2 separate regions of the Homo sapiens genome follow, and region 2 is linked to region 1. Evidence: promoter capture Hi-C in human tissues and cell types (Jung and others, 2019). All regions are on one chromosome and are shown on one strand. The core of a region is centred on a gene start or on the middle of the fragment in contact, and the rest is flanking DNA. Distances in the headings are between cores, read along the strand shown.

Evidence for each region. The method cuts DNA at HindIII sites, captures the fragments that hold promoters and counts their contacts. A contact is called where the count stands out against the background at its distance.
Region 2: a fragment that was not itself captured here is called in contact with the fragment with the promoter of GREM1 in region 1 in 1 of the 25 tissues and cell types used here (spleen).

What each region holds. Positions count from the first base shown.
Region 1 is chr15:32,715,537-32,720,666 of GRCh38, reverse strand. GREM1 (gremlin 1, DAN family BMP antagonist) reads right to left here and starts at 2,663. Exons shown (of 2, transcript NM_013372.7): 1 at 2,506-2,663. GREM1-AS1 (GREM1 antisense RNA 1) reads left to right here and starts at 1,802. Exons shown (of 2, transcript NR_109767.1): 1 at 1,802-2,122; 2 at 2,303-2,566. RefSeq lists enhancers at 1,363-1,940, 1,941-2,519, 2,657-3,157. The HindIII fragment of the contact is 12,229 bases long and covers 1-5,130 here.
Region 2 is chr15:33,269,195-33,274,324 of GRCh38, reverse strand. No RefSeq gene overlaps it. Among named protein-coding and RNA genes, the nearest start is that of RYR3-DT, 39 kb to the left of the region's middle. The HindIII fragment of the contact is 3,414 bases long and covers 707-4,120 here.

The DNA of each region.
Region 1 (5,130 bases), core at 1,414-3,913:
TTCCTGTTGTACTTTGAATTTCTAAGAGCATATGTTAAAACTAAAGAAAATTCCTTGCAGATCGAAGACACGGGCTGGTAGCACTTGCCTGATGGTTGCCTTTTGGTTAGAGGCTGCAGTCACCTCCCCTAACCACTGTCCCCCACCTGCCTTTCCTTTACATAAAAGGTTTATATTTCCTGGCTGTCCTTTACTCTCTGTTGTGGAACATGTTCCACAGCTTTGCTGTCAACAAGCAGTTCTTGGGGGAGGTGTCTGCGGCATGAAATTTCTTTGCATTTTATCACTTTTAATACTTGACCATTCAGACTGAAGGCATCTTCGGCTTAGTTTCAAAGACAGGGTAGGCAGCCCTCATTCAGAGATGTAGGACATAAAAGGTTTTTATCCTTCCCTGTGTAACTACTCACATAAAGACCGCATTAGCCAACCTGGATTTCCTACAGAGCGTGGGTTACCAAAACATTTCACTAAAAATGAACTTTTAAGAAAATAGGAAACCTGTGAAATTACAAAGTTTACAAAAGACTCTAATTCCTACAATGACCTGGAGGTTAAACACACACACACAGACACACACACACACACGCACACATACTGCCACTACCCTGCTAAAAATCCCTGAAATAGTTAATATTAACAATTTGACAGTGCCATTTATCCAGAGATAGTAATCAAATCACCTACTGTTATAGACTTGGCTTGGGGGGCAGTGAGAATATATAGTTTTCTTAAGATCTTTCCCTCCTTGCTTTGAAAAGTACATCCCCCCCTCAAGACTCTCATGCTCCCCCTCCTTCCAAAAAAAGAGAAAAGGGGAGGGGGAAGCCCTAGGGATGAAAGAGGACTCCTCACCCTAGAATGGGGTTATCTTAACCTCTTCTACGCTATTTATTTAACTTGTGTGTACAGCCAGAAGGAAGCCACTACTCTGGGGTCCCTGGGACAGCTTAAAACCCTAGTGACCCACTTAACACAATAGATTGTTTTAATCAGTTCGTGTCCTGGCACCATCTCGAAGGGGAACATAAACAGACGCGCACACCGCTCAGATTTGCTCTTTCCAGCAGGAGATCCAATTACCTATCGGTGGTCACCTCTCTGCCCTCGGACCGTTTAAGAGGGGGATTTTAACCCCTAACGCTGAGGCTGTATTTCTGTCTATAAGAGCCGAGATTCGGAGTCGGTCGAGGAGGGGAAGGCAGTAGACGGATTCGACCCGGGAATGCATTAGGGACAGCTCCGGGCGCGCAGGAATTTCTTCACAGCAGAGGCTGGTCACCTGCCGTCCGTCCCTCCCCGCCTGGCCCGGTGACCGTCGCCAGAGCCTGGCGCAGGCAAATAAACGCCAAGCTGGGGCACCCCCAAGGAGGAGCTGCGATCCGAAGGCAATGCCAAGCGAGAGCGGTGGCGCGTCTGTTCTTCCGGAGTCTGTAGTCTACAAATAACTCCGGCCAGCAAGGAGGTGACAGCCCCAATATACCTCCCACTCCCCTGCTATGGCCTTGCTCCGCAAGCTGTGGAGGGGCCAGCGGAGCCAGCCAGGCAGCGAGAGAGAACGAAAGACGCCCAGCTCGTTGCAGCCGCCAACCCGCCTCAGCCGCCAGTCCCTAGTCCTCAGGAGCTAGTGAGGCGCTGCAAGGCGAGGCTGGGGCCTCTAGAACACAGTTTAAGGGGTGCGCGCGGAAGTGGGAACCAGCCGGTGGCCGCTGCCCGGCGCCAGAACGTCTACCATTCAGCCCGGGCGTGCGCGGGGCGGGGAAGAGGCTGGAGTAGAGAAGCGAGCGCCCGCGAGTGCGTGGCCGGTCCGCGAGCGCGTGTGGTGTCTGCCTTGTGAGCACTGCGGGTTCGCTGGACCCCGCGGCCAGGGCCGCGCCCCGCACCGCAGCTGTCGGATTACCCACCGTTCGGTTTTCCGCTGTGGCTGAACACAGCGGCTCTGCCCTTGCCAGTCTCCATCTCACCTCGGGGATCGGCAAATGCACACATCATGGATTCTCCGGATGCTCCAACCCGCGGACTCCAATGGGCGCCCCAAGACGCCCCCAGACCCAGCGCGGCGCCCCAAGCACATGGGACCCTCTCAAGGCAACTCGCCGCGCAGTCAGCGGCCGACTAGCAGGTCCGGATGCTCCTGCGCTCTGGCGGCCTGGACTTCGCGCCCTCGCTAAGCGGGCGCGTCTGCCAGGCGCTGCTGCCACCAGCACCAGGAGCGTGTTCGGGGGCCTCCGGGAGGTGGAAACGGGATGTGGGGGTCATCCTGCCCGCTCCTGACAACTTTTTTTCCTACGTTTCCCTGCAGACCCAGAGCAGCGAGGTCACGGTGTCCGCGGCCTCAGCAGGAAGGACCCCGCGATGGTTCTTCACAATTCACCCCCGCGAACAACGCACCCGAGCCTGCGCGCACGGAGGGCTGCCGCGCGTGGAACTGAGCGGGTCCTGGGTTGGTTTGCGGCCCTCTTCCCTCCGCCCACTCACATCCCTGCCGGGTGCGTCCGCGCTCACCTGTCAGTGCGGCGGGTCCTCGGGGCCTGCGCTTTCGACGCGTGGCGCTGAGTGCGGCCGCGGCCAGAGCCGCCGGGGCTCGGCGCGGGGTCAGCGGGACCGAGAGTGACGCGGCGGCCGTGCACTGGGTCGCCCGGTCCGCGGAAGGCGCACCGAGTGCCAGGCATCGCGCCGTCTCCCGTTTAAATGCCGGCGGCAGAGCGCGGCGCCCGGGGCCGCGCCTCTCCATTGGCCAGGCGCCGCCGCCGCCGCCAGACCCGCTATCCGCCCCCTTTCCCGGTACTGCCCCCGCCCCCCGCACCCCTCCTGCTTCCCCGCGGGGTCCCCTCTCCGCCCGCCTCGCCTCTTTGTCTGCTCCCCCCGCCCGGGCCGGCTGGGAGAGGTCACCCCAGGGAACCGCGCCTGGAATGCACAGCAAATCACATTTTCCGCTCCCGTTGGAGAGGGAAGAGCGGGAGGAAATCCCCCCGGCTGGCGGCCCCTCATTCCTTCTCTGCCCCAGGTCTGGGCTTTCCCTGTCGGCCGCCCGGCATCGCCTGCGTTGGTCCCGCGCTCAGTAGCGGAGACTGCGCTGGGAAGAGCGAGATCTCCGTGGGATCGTGCCAGATTCGGCCATTCTTCCCCTCTGGAGGGAACGGGACTGCGGGATGCTCTGGTCGAGCGGCCGTCGTGGCTCCCCGGCGGCCCCGCCCGAGGCCCCCAACTTCGAGGGCGCTGACCCCGGCGCCCCCGTTAACCTGGCGGGCTCGCTGGCCGCCAGCAGGAGCCTGTCGCCAACATGACACCCTGCTCTCCTCGCCCGCCAAGGGTTCTTTCAGCCCAGATGCCGGCGGCCTCCCCTGTGAGTGTACAGAGGGGAGTCACGGGAGGAGAATAAAACTAAATGACCGTCAAAAGTCAAGGCTTCTGTTCCTAAATTATCTTAAGAGACAGAGAGAAAACAGCCACTGGGCGAGAGGGGTTTTCTGTAGCATATCAAAGACGAATAAGTCAGGAAAATAAAACGTTAGATGAGGAAGTAACTTCCCAGAAATTTAGGACAAAAACCTACCGACGTGTAAAACCAATGTCACATTCCGGATACCAAGTACATAAATAGTTTTCGAAAGATGAGCGAACACTTTCATTTGTTCTCTTAGCCTGAAAAATTGGTTCCTCAAAGAGGCCGTAAGTTTTGTGTGTTGAAGCTAAAGTCCGTGCAAAAATTAACACGTCTGCAAGATCTGCAGACCAGCTCCATCAGCCACGTCAAATGAAGACTTTGAAAAAGATTTGCTACAGAAGGAAATATGAAGGTGTCTGTATTGTCTAACGCGAAATAAACAAAACAATGAAATCCATCAAAAGATACTTACGAAACACCCGTAATTTAAGTACTTGACTAGGAAAACAAAACCAGACCAGAAAACAGCCTATTTTTTTTTTCTCTTTAGTCCGGCGTTAGGGGGAAGAAGCAAGAAACATCTACTAGATGCTGTTAGGAACGTGAAATAGATATTTTTAAATAAATGAAGCAAGAAGGACGTCTGCATTAGTATCCTTAAAATCTTAGTCCTCTCAATGTTTTGTTTGTGCAGATGGCAGTTTCTACACATGAACTCGAGGCTGCACTTTACAATTCTCAATCAGTTGTTGTTAAGTCATGCAGTGAGCCACAGTTTGTAGTTGCCTACAGAATGGGAGCATTGAACCAGCTTGAAGACCTGTCTTGCTCACGTGGGCTCCTGGAGAGATAGGTAATCAGAAATACACAAAATACTTAGGCGATGACCAGTTCAGTCGAAGCCCACCACCAAGCTGTATTGGAGCCAGCTGTTCTCCCAACGTGCAAACTGCTGTACTTCTCCCCACAAAAGGGAGCATATTTTACAAATTCATTAAGTCCTCCTCATCTAAAATAAAAGCTTTAGTCACTTCTTTTTTTCCCAAGACTTATATACTGCCCCAAATCAAATACAAAGAAGCTGAAATTACCTCCCAAAATGGAAGTGATTTTTTTTTTTTGGAGCCCTGACACTGTGGTTTTCTCTATCTCCATGTATCAAATCATGATGACTCTTCCTCATGCAGTTTCTCAGGCCATATTTTTTATAATAGAGCCCCCACCTCCTCCCCACAACACACGCCCCCTCTCTGTATCCCAAAGAGATAGAGAGGGCTATGCATCACTGCATCATTTTTCTTCATTCTCATTTCTCTCTCCCTTCTCCCTGGCATTATAGTATTTCCTGCCACTAGAATGTAAGGTTCATAAGGGCAGGGATTTTGTCTAGGTCACTTTGATTACATGAAGCACATAGAATATAGATTGTCTAACACAGCACTCAGATTCAATAAATAGTTGTGGATTGAGAATGTTGAGCACATTCCCACTAAGATTGTCAGCTGAACCAAATGCTGAGGGTATAACCATCGTGGATAGGATAAACACAGGCCCTCACCTCAAAGAATTTATAGTCTAGTATGTTTGTAAATATTTATATAGAAACACAAGTTTTTTGCCCAATATTTGTGTTTCCACAGCTCCTAACAAGTTCTTGCAAACCATTGTCCAATCAGGAGGAAGGCATAAGGATAAAAACTCCCTAGACCGCTCTAAACATGGTTACATAACTAAAACCTGCT
Region 2 (5,130 bases), core at 1,164-3,663, 550 kb before region 1:
GGAGAAACAGAGATGTGTGATCTTTCAGAAAGATAATTCAAAATAGCTGTATTGAGGAAACTCAAAGAAATTCAAGATAACACAAAGAAGGAATTCAGAAGACAAATTTAACAAGGAGATTAAAATAATTAAAAAGAATCAAGGGGAAAATCTGGAGCTGAAAAACTCAATTGGCATACTGAAGAATGCATCAGAGTCCTTTAGTGGCAGAATTGATCAAGCAGAAGAAAGAAGTAGTGAGCTTGAAGGCAGCCTATTTGAAAATACAGTCAGAGGAGACATAAGAAAGAATAAAAAACCATGAATCACACCTACAGTATCTAGAAAATAGCCTCAAAAGGCAAATCTAAGAGTTATTGGCCTTAAAGAGGAGGTAGATAAAGAGGTAGGATTAGAAAGTTTATTCAAAGGGAAAATAACTGGCCAGGCATGGTGGCTTACGCCTGCAATCCTAGCACTTTGGGAGGCCAAGGCATTTGGATCACTTGAGGTCAGGAGTTCAAGACCAGCCTGGCCAACATGGTGAAACCCCATCTCTACTAAAAATACAAAAATTAGCTTAGCGTGGTGGCGTGTTTCCATAATCCCAGCTACTTGGGAGGCTGAGGCATGAGAATCGCTTGACCCCAGGAGGAGGAAGTTGCAGAGAGCTGAGATTGCACCACTGCACTCCAGCCTGGGCAACAGAGCAAGACTCCATCAAAACAAATAAACAAACAAACAAAACAAAGGGAAAATAACAGAGAATATACCAAACCTAGAGAAACATATCAATATCCAAGTACAGGAAGGTTATGGAACACATCTTAAACCAAGAAGATTTAACCCAAGAAAGACTACTTCAAGGAATTTAATTAGTAAACTCCAAAAGGTCAAAGATAAAGAAATGAGCCTAAAAGTAGCAAGAGAAAAGAAACAAATCACATACAATGGAGCTCCAATACATCTGGCAGCAGAGTTTTCAGTGGAAACTTTATGGGCCTGGAAAGAGTGGTATGACATATTTAATATGCTGAAGGAGAAAAAACACTTTTAATCTAGAATAGTATGTCCAGTGAAAATATCTTTCAAACATGAAGGAGAATAAAGACTTTCCCAAATGAACAAAGGCTGAGGGATTTCATCAGTACCATACCTGTCCTACAAGAAATGCTAAAGGGAATACTTCAGTCAGCAAGAAAAGAACATTACCGAGCAATAAAAAATCACTGGAAGTTACAAAACACACTGGCAATAGTAAGTACACAGAAAAACACAGAGTATTATAACACTGTAACTGTGGTGTATAAACTATTCTTACCCTAAGTAGAAAGACTAAATAATGAACCAGTCAAAAATAATGACTACAACAACTTTTCAAGACATAATCAGTACAATAAGATATAAATAGAAACAACAAAAAGTTAAAAAGTGGGGGGGATGAAGTTAAGGCATATAGTTATTAGTTTTCTTTTTGCTGGTTTGTGTGCTTATGCAAATAATGCTAAGTTGTTATCACATTAAGACAACAGGTTATAAGATAATCTTTGCAAGCCTCATGGTAACATCAAAGCAAAAAGCATATAAGGGATGCACAAAAAATAAAAAGCAAGAAACTAAATCACATCACCAGAGAAAATCACCTTCACTAGAGGAAGACAGGAGGGAAAGAAAAAAGGAAGAAAAGACCACAAAACAACTAGAAAACAAAGAATAAAATGACAGGAGTAAGTCCTTACTTATCAATAATAACATTGAATGCAAATGGACCAAACTCTGCAATCAAAACACGCAGACCAACTAAATGGATGAAAAAACAAGACCCATTGATTTGTTGCCTGCAAGACACACTTCACCTATGAAGACACACACAGACTGAAAAGAAAGGGATGGAAAAAGATATTCCATGCCAATGGCAACCAAAAAAGAGCAGGAGTCACTATACTTATATCAGACAAAATAGATTTCAAGATAAAAACAACAAGAAGAGACAAAGGTCACTCTATAATGATAAGGGAGTCAATTCAGGAAGAGGGTATAATAATTTTAAATACACATGCACCCGGTCAGGCACAGTGGCTCACACCTTTGTGAGGCACACACTTTGGGAGGCTGAGGTGGGCAAATCACCTGAGGTCAGGAGATCGAGACCAGCCTGGCCAACATGGTGAAAACCCCTCTCTACCAAAAATACAAAAATTAGCTGGGTGTGGTGGCATGTGCCTGTAATCCCAGCTACTTGGGAGGCTGAGAAAGGAGAATCACTTGAACCCAGGAGGTGGAGGTTGCAGTGAGCCAAGATTGCACCACTGCACTCTAGCCTAGGTGACAGAGCAAGACTCCAACTAAAAAAAAAAAAAAATATATATATATATACACACACACACACACACACACACACACATACACACACACACACACATACACACACACACCCAATACTGGAGCACCTGGATATGTAAAGGAACTATTATCAGAGCCAAAAAGAGAGATAGGTCCCAATACAATAATAGCTGGATACTTCAACATCCCCCTTTCAGCATTGGGTAGATTTTCCAGACAGAAAATCAACAAAGAAACATCAGACTTAATCTGCACTATAGACTAAATGGATCTAATAGATATTTACAGAGCATTTCATGTAAGAGCTGCAGAATACATATTCTTTTCCTCAACACATGGATCATTCTCAAGTATAGACCATTTGCGAGGTCACAAGACAGTCTTAAAACATTCAAAAAATTGAAGTAATATCAAGCTTCTTCTCTAGAAAAACTAGAAATCAATGACAAGAGGAATCTTGGAAACTATAAAAAAGAAACATGGAAATTAAGCAATATACTCCTGAATGACCAGTCAATAAAGAAATCAAGAAGGAAATTTAAAAATTTCATGAAACAAATGATAATGGAAGCACAACATACCAAAACTTACGGGATACAGCAGTTCTAAGAGGGAATTTTATCGTTATAAGTGCCTACATCCAAAAAGAGAAAACTTCAAACAAACAACCTAACAATGCATATTAAAAACAAGAAAATCAAGAGCAAACTAAACCCAAAATTAGAAGAAAAGAAATAATAAAGATCAGAGCAGAAGTAAATGAAATTAAAATGAAAAAACAATACAAAAATCAATGAAACAAAAAGTTGGTTTCTTGAAAAGTTAAACAAAATTGACAAACCTTTAGCCAGACTAAGAAAAAAAGAGAGAAGATCCAAATAAATAAAATCAGAAATGAAAAAGGAGACATTACACTGATATTGCAGAAATTCAAATGATTATTAGTGGCTATGATGAGCAACTATATGCCTATAAATTGGAAAATCTAAAAGAAATGAACAAATTCCTAGATACACACAACCTAACCGAGATTTAACCAGGAAGAAATTCAAGCCTAATGAGATCAATAACAGTAACAAGATTGAGGCTTTAATAAAAAGTCTCCCAGTAAAGAAAAGCCTGGGACCTGACAGCTTCACTGCTGAATTCTACCAAGCATTTAAAGAAGAACTAATACCAATCCTATTCAAACTGTTTCAAAAAATAGAGGAGAGGGAAATACTTCCAAACTCATTCTGTGAGACCAGAGTTACCCTGATACCAAAATCAAAGACACATTAAAAATAAATAAATAAAACTAAAGGCCAAGATTTCCGATGAATATTGATACAAAAATCCTCAACAAAATTACTAGCAAACTGAATTCAACAATACATTAAAAAGATCATTTTATCAGGACGAAGTGGGATTTATCCCTGGTATGCAAGGATGCAAGGATGGTCAACATACACAGATCAATCAGTGTGATACATCATATCAACAGAATGAAGGATAAAAACCATATGATCATTTCAATTGATGCTGAAAAAGCATTTGATAAAATTCAAAATCTTTTCATGATAAAACCCCTCAAAAAACTGCAGATAGAAAAAACATACCTCAAAAGCCATATATGACATATGTGGCTATTACGGGAAATTATATACCTATAAATTGGAAAATCTAAAAGAAATGAACAAATTCCCCCATTCAGTATGATACTAGCTGTGGGTCTGTCATATATGGCTTAATATGACAGACCCACAGCTAGTATCATACTGAATGGGGAAAAATGGAAAACCATTCCTCTAAGATCTTGTACACACCAAGGATGCACACCGTCACCACGATTATTCATCATAATACTGAAAGTTCTAGCTAGAGCAATCAGACAAAAGAAAGATATAAAGGGCATCCAAATTGGAAAGGAAGAAGTCAAATTATCCTGGTTTGAAGATGATATGATCTTTTATTTGGAAAAACCTAAAGATTCCACAAGAAAACTATTAGAACTGATAAACAAATTCAGTAAAGTCGCAGGATATAAAATCAACATACAAAAATCAGTAGCATTTCTACAGGCCAACAGTGAACAATGTGAAAAAGAAATTTAAAAAGTAATCCCATTTACAGTAGCCACACATAAAACTAAATACCTAGCAATTAACCAAAGAATTATTAAGTTAATTAGTAAAAGATCTCTCTATAAAGAAAACTATAAAATACTGAAAAGAATACCAAAAAAAAAGGAAAAATATTCCATATTCATGGATTGGAAGAATCAATGTTGTTAAAATGCCTATACTACCCAAAGCAACCTACAGATTCAATGCAATGCCTATCAAAATACCAATAACATTCTTCACAGAAATAAAAAAAAGAATCCTAAAATTTATATGGAACCTCGAAAGACTCAGAATAGCCAAAGCTATCCTAAGTCAAAAGAACAAACTGGAGGAATCACATTACCTGACTTCAAATGATACTAAAGAGCTATAGTTATCAAAATAGCATTGTATTAGTGTAAAAACAGAAATGAGGCCGGGAACAGTGGCTCATGCCTGTAATCCCAGCACTTTGAGAAGCTGAGACGGGCAGTTCACTTGAGATTAGTAGTTCGAGACCAGACTGCCCAACATGGTAAAACCCTATCTCTACCAAAAATAAAAAAAATTAGCCAGGCATGGTGGTACATTCCTGTAGTCCCAGCTACTTGGGAAGCTGGGGCAGGAGGATCACTTGAACCCGGGAGGCAGAGGTTGCAGTGAGCTGAGATCATACCACTGTACTCCAGCCTGGGGAACAGAGCGAGATTCCATAAAAAAAAAA